2 separate regions of the Homo sapiens genome follow, and region 2 is linked to region 1. The links are contacts of gene promoters, found by promoter capture Hi-C in blood cells and fetal thymus (Javierre and others, 2016). All regions are on one chromosome and are shown on one strand. Each heading gives the region's core, a stretch centred on a gene start or on the middle of the fragment in contact. The rest is flanking DNA. Distances are from core to core; before and after follow the strand shown.

Region 1 (3,552 bases), core at 425-2,924:
GCAAGGGATCAATGAGAATGGTTGGCCATTGAGTTTAAGCTGGCTCACTAGAGAGGGTCATAAAGGAAGAAACAGTGAACAAGTAGTAAGATCTTGATTGGAGGTGCTGGTAAGGTTGCAGGAGTTTTGTTTCAGGGCAGTATAGGGAGTGACCTGGACAGATAGGAGGATAGATAGACCTGGTCAGAGTGGGATACTGTGGGGGTTGCAGTCCTTGGACCTGACAAGGTCTAAGGTCTGATCATGGAGGGAGGGGGAAGCTGAGGTAGGGCAGAGGACAGGAGTGGGCTTCATGAGACCAAAAGGATGTTGGAAGGATTATCTACCTGGATACTGAAATCTTCAAGAAGTAAGAGGTGTAGTGTGAAGAAGTTACAACACTCTAAGCTCTTCAGGGATAAGGGAAGCATGTGCCACGTGGGTAGCCTCCCAAGTCCAGCACCCAGTATCTAGAATATGCAGAGTGAATACCTGGGGGCTGCTGAGGGCAAGAACAAGGTGCCTGTGAGAAGACCTGACGCCTGGGGTTCTCGTGACAGGAGTGGGCCTAGTTTTTGGTGTAGAATTGAGCCTTGAATGCACCAGCGGGATCATATTGAAAAGAAACCCTCCAAGACTAAAGGAAGATGCATCCTCTGACAATGTACGCTCTGTAGGCTCCCAAGTAGCTGGGCTGGGGATTAGATGGACTCCAAGGCATTTCCTCAGGTGGCAATGGGCGGATCCCTGGGAAGGTAAAGCTGTGCAGTAAGAAAACGGCAAGATGCTACGTTCACTCAGGTAAAGCCCCTTTCCCGGGTTTAGGGAGGGCGAGGCAGTTTAGGCTGGGTCAGTTTGTCCCTGCCCTCACGGTTTGTTGGTCCTGGCAAAAGAGGGCCTTATGTTATTTATTTTTCTTAGAGACAGTGTCTTGCTCTGTTGCCCAGGCTGAAGTCCAGTGGCTCATCTCAGTTCACTGCAGACTCCGCCTCCTGGGATCAAGCGATCCTCCCACCTCAGCCTCCAGAGTAGCTGGGACCACAAGCACCACAGGCGCCCGGCACGATGCCGGCTAATTTTTTTTTTTTTTTTTTTTAAGAGAGAGAGGTAGGCTCCCTATGTTGCCCAGGCTTGTCTTGAATTCCTGGGCTCAAGCAATCCTCCCTCCTCGGCTTCCCAAAGTGTAGGGATTACAGGCGTGAGCCACTGCGCCCTGCCAAAAGAGGGCTTTAGGGCACCCCAGAACGCGAGATCCCCCTCATCTGTAATCTTTAAAGAGGAGGAAGTGTACTCCAAATCAAGCGATAGTCCATTCGTCCTTGGCACGGTGACTGCCGGGAGGCCAGGACCAAATGTGTCTCCTTCCGGCTTTTGCACCACACTAACTAACCGGCGCCAGGCCGCAGAGCCGCCCTGGCCTTCGGCGAGAACTCAGGCGAGCGCGGCGCACGCTGCTCCGGAGTCCCACCGCGGAAGTTGAGGCCGCGGATTCCGAGGGCGGGGTGGAGAGGAATCTGGAAGGACCTGGACCCGGTGGAACGCACTGCGCGGACGGCGCCTGCGTCCGCACTCAGCTGTTCAGCCCTCTTTCTTCAGGCTCTCCCCTGAAAGCCGTCCCCATGCCGGTCTCTTTTTTCTGCCTTCTTGTTTCCCTCCGGCGAGTCAGCGCGACTGTGAATTTCCGTTTCCGGCGGTGTCCATGCTGACCTGAGGAGTCGCGGCTGCGAGCAGGTTCGGTGCTGCGGGTTGGGGTAGGCGGCGGTGGGGTCCCTGGTTCTGGGGCACTGGGAAGATCGCGAGTCGTGCGTGTGGGAAGGTCCTCCCCCGGTCCTCCGGGTCATCTTTGCTCCCGAGGAGCGGCATATTTCTCATCTGGCGGAGGTGTCCTGGGGTAGTTGGGTGAGTGACGTGATGAATCCCTGCAGAGAGCCCAGACGGGGAGGGAAGGTGGCTGGGCGACGTCGTTTCCTGGCGACGTGGTCCCGGTAGGAGACTTAGACCTGAGCTGGATCTGTTGACCCCAAATTGTGCTTTTCCCACCAAGAAGAAAGACAGGGAGAGAAACATTAGTACAAGTGCTGAACTAAAATATAGCAGAGAAGAAACATAATCTCTGAAATCACACAGCTATTCGGTTTCAAAGCGTTCCTAGCGCCCAGCTCTCCTAACTCCTGGCCAGTGTTCTTGACATTATGGTAATACATAAAGACTTTGTTTCCGCTGGTGTGTGTCTGTGGGAAGCCTCTGACTCACCTCCGTGCTCCAGTAGCACCCTGTGCAGCCTTCCAATGTCGCCCTTATTGCGTGGCGCGGAAGATAATAGTTTGGATTTCCTCTGCAAGTCAGATAATAGCTGTATCCACTTACTGGCACAGTGCCTAGCACATCGTAGACAGACACAAATATTTATTCAACGGAATGAATACAGTACCTTAATTGAATGAAATGGCATCCTGCTCCGCTTTTTTTTTTTAATCAAGCTGTCAGATTTTATGCAGCCCGATTTCCTAAAATAACTCACTAATTCAGTGATTGCCAATTTATTAGCCACAGATTCCCAGGTAACTCAGAAATCACTGGAAGGGTCTCTGTAAGTTCATGGGGTCTCCAGGTGTCATCTAGAACCAGTCCTATCTCACACGTACAGCTATTTCTATTTTTCAAATGTATGTAGATAAGTTGTAATTTAGGAGTTTTACAGAGTCAACAGGTACTAAAAGTAATACTGCGATCATATTGGAGGTTCATAAAAACGTTTCACATTTTTTTATTAAAATTTAAGTTTTAGTTTAAGTTAGGAAACCACTTCATCAGTCCAGTTGATACCTGGGTCTGAGCTGTCCAGTATGGTAGCCACATGTGACTATTTGGAGTTAGAATGAAATTAATTAAAAACTCATTTTTTCAGTTTCCCTAAGTATATTGTAAGTAACCACATGTGGCTAATGGCTAAATGGCTGAAAAGTACAGATATAGTATATTTCTATCCTTGCAGAAATAGATACTGCTGATGTTGACACTTAAGATGAATAAAAAGTAACTTAACCATAAAATGTAATCTTAAGAGAGGTAACTCATCTAATTTATAGCATAACAGAGAGAAATGAAATTGGGGATGGTTAAGCAGTTTCTACCCTTGTTCAGTGAACAAATACATCATCTCTTCATAAAGAAATAAATGAAATTTACTGTTTTTCCCTGGGTATTGCCTGGATTGTAAAATGCTTCTCCCATCTCCTTACCCCAACCTTCTTCCTTGTAGGTTAGAGTTACTTGTTATTGGTAAATAGCCACTATGGAGGCTAAGGACCAGAAGAAACACAGAAAGAAAAACAGTGGACCCAAAGCTGCAAAGAAAAAGAAGCGGCTTCTGCAGGATCTCCAGCTAGGAGACGAAGAAGATGCCCGGAAGAGAAATCCCAAAGCTTTTGCAGTTCAGTCTGCTGTGCGGATGGCTCGATCCTTTCACAGGTATGTTAGGCTACGGTCTGGTCATTCTTCCATTGATTCTTTTTTTAAATAGTAGGAGCCTCTCACAGGTGACATTTGGATTCACGAGTCTAGTCCAGCTCC
Region 2 (3,796 bases), core at 947-3,446, 220 kb before region 1:
CAATTGAAGTAGAGTTGCCTTTGAAGTGGCCTGAGACGGCTATCCTATCCTTGTCTGGTATCTGGGAATGTGAATTTTGGGAAGGTTTGGGAACCTGGATTTCAGAAGGGTTCCCTCCTCCCTCACTGATCAAATGGCTCACTGTACCTAAACAATATGGTTTCTGCGGAACACCTGCTTTTTTTCTGGGAATCTGGAATCTTGATTTCTGCACAATAGACAGTGTCTACACGAGCAGCCCCCCAATAAAAAGCCCAGGCACTGAGTCTCTAAGGAGCTTCTGTGACAACATTTTGCATTTGTTGTCACAGCATGTTGCTGGAGGAATTCAGCACATCCTATGTGGCTCCACTAGGAGAGGATGCTTGGAAGCTGGTACCAGGTTTCCTCTGGACATGGCCCTGTGACCTCTCCCCTTTGCTGACCTTGCTGTAATAAGTTGTAGCCATACTGTGACTATATGCCAAGTCCTGTCAGTCCTCCTAGCAATTTGTTTAGCCCAGAAGTGTTCTTGGGAATCCCCAATACAGTTGGCATCAGAAGCAAATTTTTTTTTACTTCTGACTCTGTCACCCAGGCTGGAGTGCAGTGGCACAATCATAGCTCACTGCAGCCTTGAGCTCCTGGGCACAAGTGATCCTCCTGCCTCAGCTGGGACTACAGGTATGTATCCTCCTGAATAGCTGGGACTACAAGCACGTGCCACCATCCCGGGCTCTTTTTTTTTTTTTCTGTAAAGATGGGGTCCTGCTATGTTGCCCAGGTTTATCTTGAGCTCCTGGCCTTAAGTGATCCTCCTGCCTCAGCCTCTCTAAGTGCTGAGATTACAGGTGTGAGTCATTGCACCTGGCCCAGAAGTGGAATTTGCTAGAACAGTCCTGATTCACTAAGATTTGGCTCCATCACTGTTTGGGAAAAGGAAGAATGAAGGGGAATGGTGATAAGCCTTGGTGTCTATCGAGCCCTCCATGGTTTGAGAGCAGCAGCTGAACTGCCATCTGCTGTTAGAAGCCACAGTGACCTTTGGGGTTAGAAATGGATCCAACCCTGGCTTCTTTGAGCTGTGCTGGATGAAGTGAGGGGGAAAGTATACATCTGGGGATTGGCTTTGTTTTTTATTCTCTTCTCCAGGTGGGAGGGTAAAAAAACAACAGTGACAAATTATAAAGGTGAGTGTTAGGTGGCCCCAAAAATGTTAGAAGTTCTCAGGGCTGGAGCAAAGCTGGGGTGGGAGGGTGGGAGGGTGGGAGGGTGGGGAGGGCACCAAGACTCCATCCAGCCTCTTCTTCAGCCCAGCTGCTGCCCTGTTGCAAGAGCTGCCTCCTTCTTTACCACCCCCTGTACCCTCCCCCATCTGCTTTCCAACCTGAATCTTTCCCACAGCAGTAATGCTAACCTAACTGCAAATGCTGGATTTACTGCTATGGATTTAGTTTGCAACAGAAAAAAAAATTTAATGGCTTTGTGTTTTGTGGCTATTACATCTAGATGTATTAATATGATAAAATTGATATAAAATGTTAAATGCTTTCAATTTCATAAATTCTAGAGGGAACACACTTATCAGGAAAAGCTGCAGCGGAAAGTGAAGGTGATACAACTTCCTTGCTTTTTGCAGCTAGTGGGCAGCTTGGAATTTAAATTCTCAATACTGGAAACAGAACAAGTCCCCAAAATTAACAATTTTTGCTACAGTTTTTGTCTATTGGAGCCACTGGAAAAAAGGAGACAATATGAAGAGAGGCAATCTTGAGCTAGAGATACGCTTTGGAATTTACAAGGCAGTTTTTCATCTCTAATGAGCTCTTGTAAGATCATATAGCTGACCCTCAGAGGCTGATGATTTTCTGGCCCCATGTGTATAGTTTTGAGTTGCTCAGCTTGGACTCTAAGGTGAATAATGTAAAAAGAGCCCAACAAAGCCTTGCTTGTCACTTGGCTAAGAACACAGCTGTCTGGCCCTGCAGCATCTCAGTCTCCAGTTACTGGAAGAACATATATTAGATGTTGGGGAAACTATAAGGCTACAGGATGATGCTGCATGTTGGCAGGGAGAATTGTTCAAGGTAGAAACTGTGGGGAACAAAGAAAGAGATTCTCATCTGTGTACCTGCTGCTACATGCTAATTTGGGAGTAAGAAAACTGTTAAGGAATAAAAAAGCCAAGAACTCTGTCTTCACAGGGCTTTCAGGCTAGAAGGGAAACTGGCCACCATACAAATTGTATACAACTCCATTAGTACTTAAGAGGTCTGATTTATTGCTTTGAAACACAAGTGCAGGAAGTTTAAGGTTTATCAGCAGCCTTTCCCTTTGCAGAAATTGTAAACTAAAAATGAAATCCTAAGCCCCCACCAACTGAAGGACACTCCCCTTAGCCAAGGGGACCCCAGAAAAATCTTACAATTGAGTTCCTGGCCATGATGGGATGGGAGGTCAGACATGTCTCATTATACCCCCTCATGTTTGTGGTTTAGACACAGCGACTGACCAGCATTAATGTTAAAATAGAGATCATAAGACTGGCAGAACAGACTTTTTGTGGCAATGAGATATCAATTATAAACAAGACCTAAGGCCATGCCAGGCAAGGGTTAGGTCAAGCACTCTAAACTTAAAGATTAACTATGGTCTAACTGCCACAAGGTTTTTCTTTTTTCTCTAGCAGCTAAATAAACACTGGCCTTGACATAAGCAAAATAAAAACAATTGTAGCTCATCACCAGACACTAATTGGCTCCCAACTCCTGTCCCAAGCACCATAACTACAGCTTTGATTAGACAAGAGACTGATTTCAGTAACTTTCTCCTGATAAGAAGACCACCCACCATGAACTGGTTCTGGCTGGTTTTACAGAGATTGCACACTTGAGTGCCTTCGTGTCCTGTAAAGACCTTTTGACTGATAGGGCCTAATTATAATACATTCAAGTGTTAGGACTCCACCCCAAAGTGAACATGGGTCATGTATTACATGCATGTTGGTTCAATACATGTGCCTCAGGACCACCTTCATGCATATTCATAGCTCCTCCTATAACCTGTTGAAGATGTATGTTTAGCTAACTTGTCCAGCATAATGCTCCTACCCCAACCTATATTCCTTCAAAGTGCCTGTCCCTAGTCCCTGGTCTTAGCCAGAGGCATTCTTCTCAGCCTGTTGCAGGCTGTAACCCCTTATAAGAAATAAAGCCTCCTCTCCATTCCAAATAGTTAAATCTTGTGAATTGTTTTTGTTTTGTTTTGTTTTGTTTTGTTTTGTTTTGTTTTGTTTTGAGATGGAGTTTCACTCTTGTCACCCAGGCTGGAATGCAATGGCACGATCTTGTGTCACTGCAACTTCTGCCTCCCAGGTTCAAGCGATTCTCTTGCCTCAGTCTCCTGAGTAGCTGGGAATACAAGCACCTGCCACCATGCCTGGCTAATTTTTGTATTTTTAGTAGAGGTGGGGTTTCATCATGTTGGCCAGGCTGGTCTCAAAATCCTGACTTCAGGTGATCCACCTGTCTCTGCCTCCCAAAGTGCTGGGATTACAGCTGTGAGCCACCGCACCTGGCCTAAATCTTGTGATTTTTAAATTCAACAGAGTCAATTAAATGGTTCCTTGATAGAGAAACATTTAAGGCAGACATTAGCTTTTATTGCCCCATAACGCTTCAGTAAGTTTCCCTGAATATTTGCATTTACTTGTCAATCAACTCACAGGGACTGAGGCAGAAGTAAAACCCACAATTACCTTACCCCTGGCCTGTGTGACAAAGTAACAAATCTTTTATCACATATTTGAGAGGCATCT

The links. Contacts are between HindIII fragments. The CHiCAGO score rates a contact against its expected background, and 5 or more counts as called.
Region 2: a contact is called between a fragment that was not itself captured here and the fragment with the promoter of BMS1 in region 1, in 2 of 17 cell types (total B cells and total CD4 T cells). The highest score is 5.7, in total B cells.

Annotation. Positions count from the first base shown.
Region 1 is chr10:42,781,121-42,784,672 of GRCh38, forward strand. It overlaps BMS1 (BMS1 ribosome biogenesis factor), which reads left to right and starts at 1,675. Exons shown (of 23, transcript NM_014753.4): 1 at 1,675-1,710; 2 at 3,242-3,450. The coding sequence starts at 3,275. RefSeq lists an enhancer at 1,506-1,855. The HindIII fragment of the contact is 6,696 bases long and covers 1-3,402 here.
Region 2 is chr10:42,559,073-42,562,868 of GRCh38, forward strand. No RefSeq gene overlaps it. Among named protein-coding and RNA genes, the nearest start is that of ZNF33B, 78 kb to the right of the region's middle. The HindIII fragment of the contact is 5,567 bases long and covers 1-3,796 here.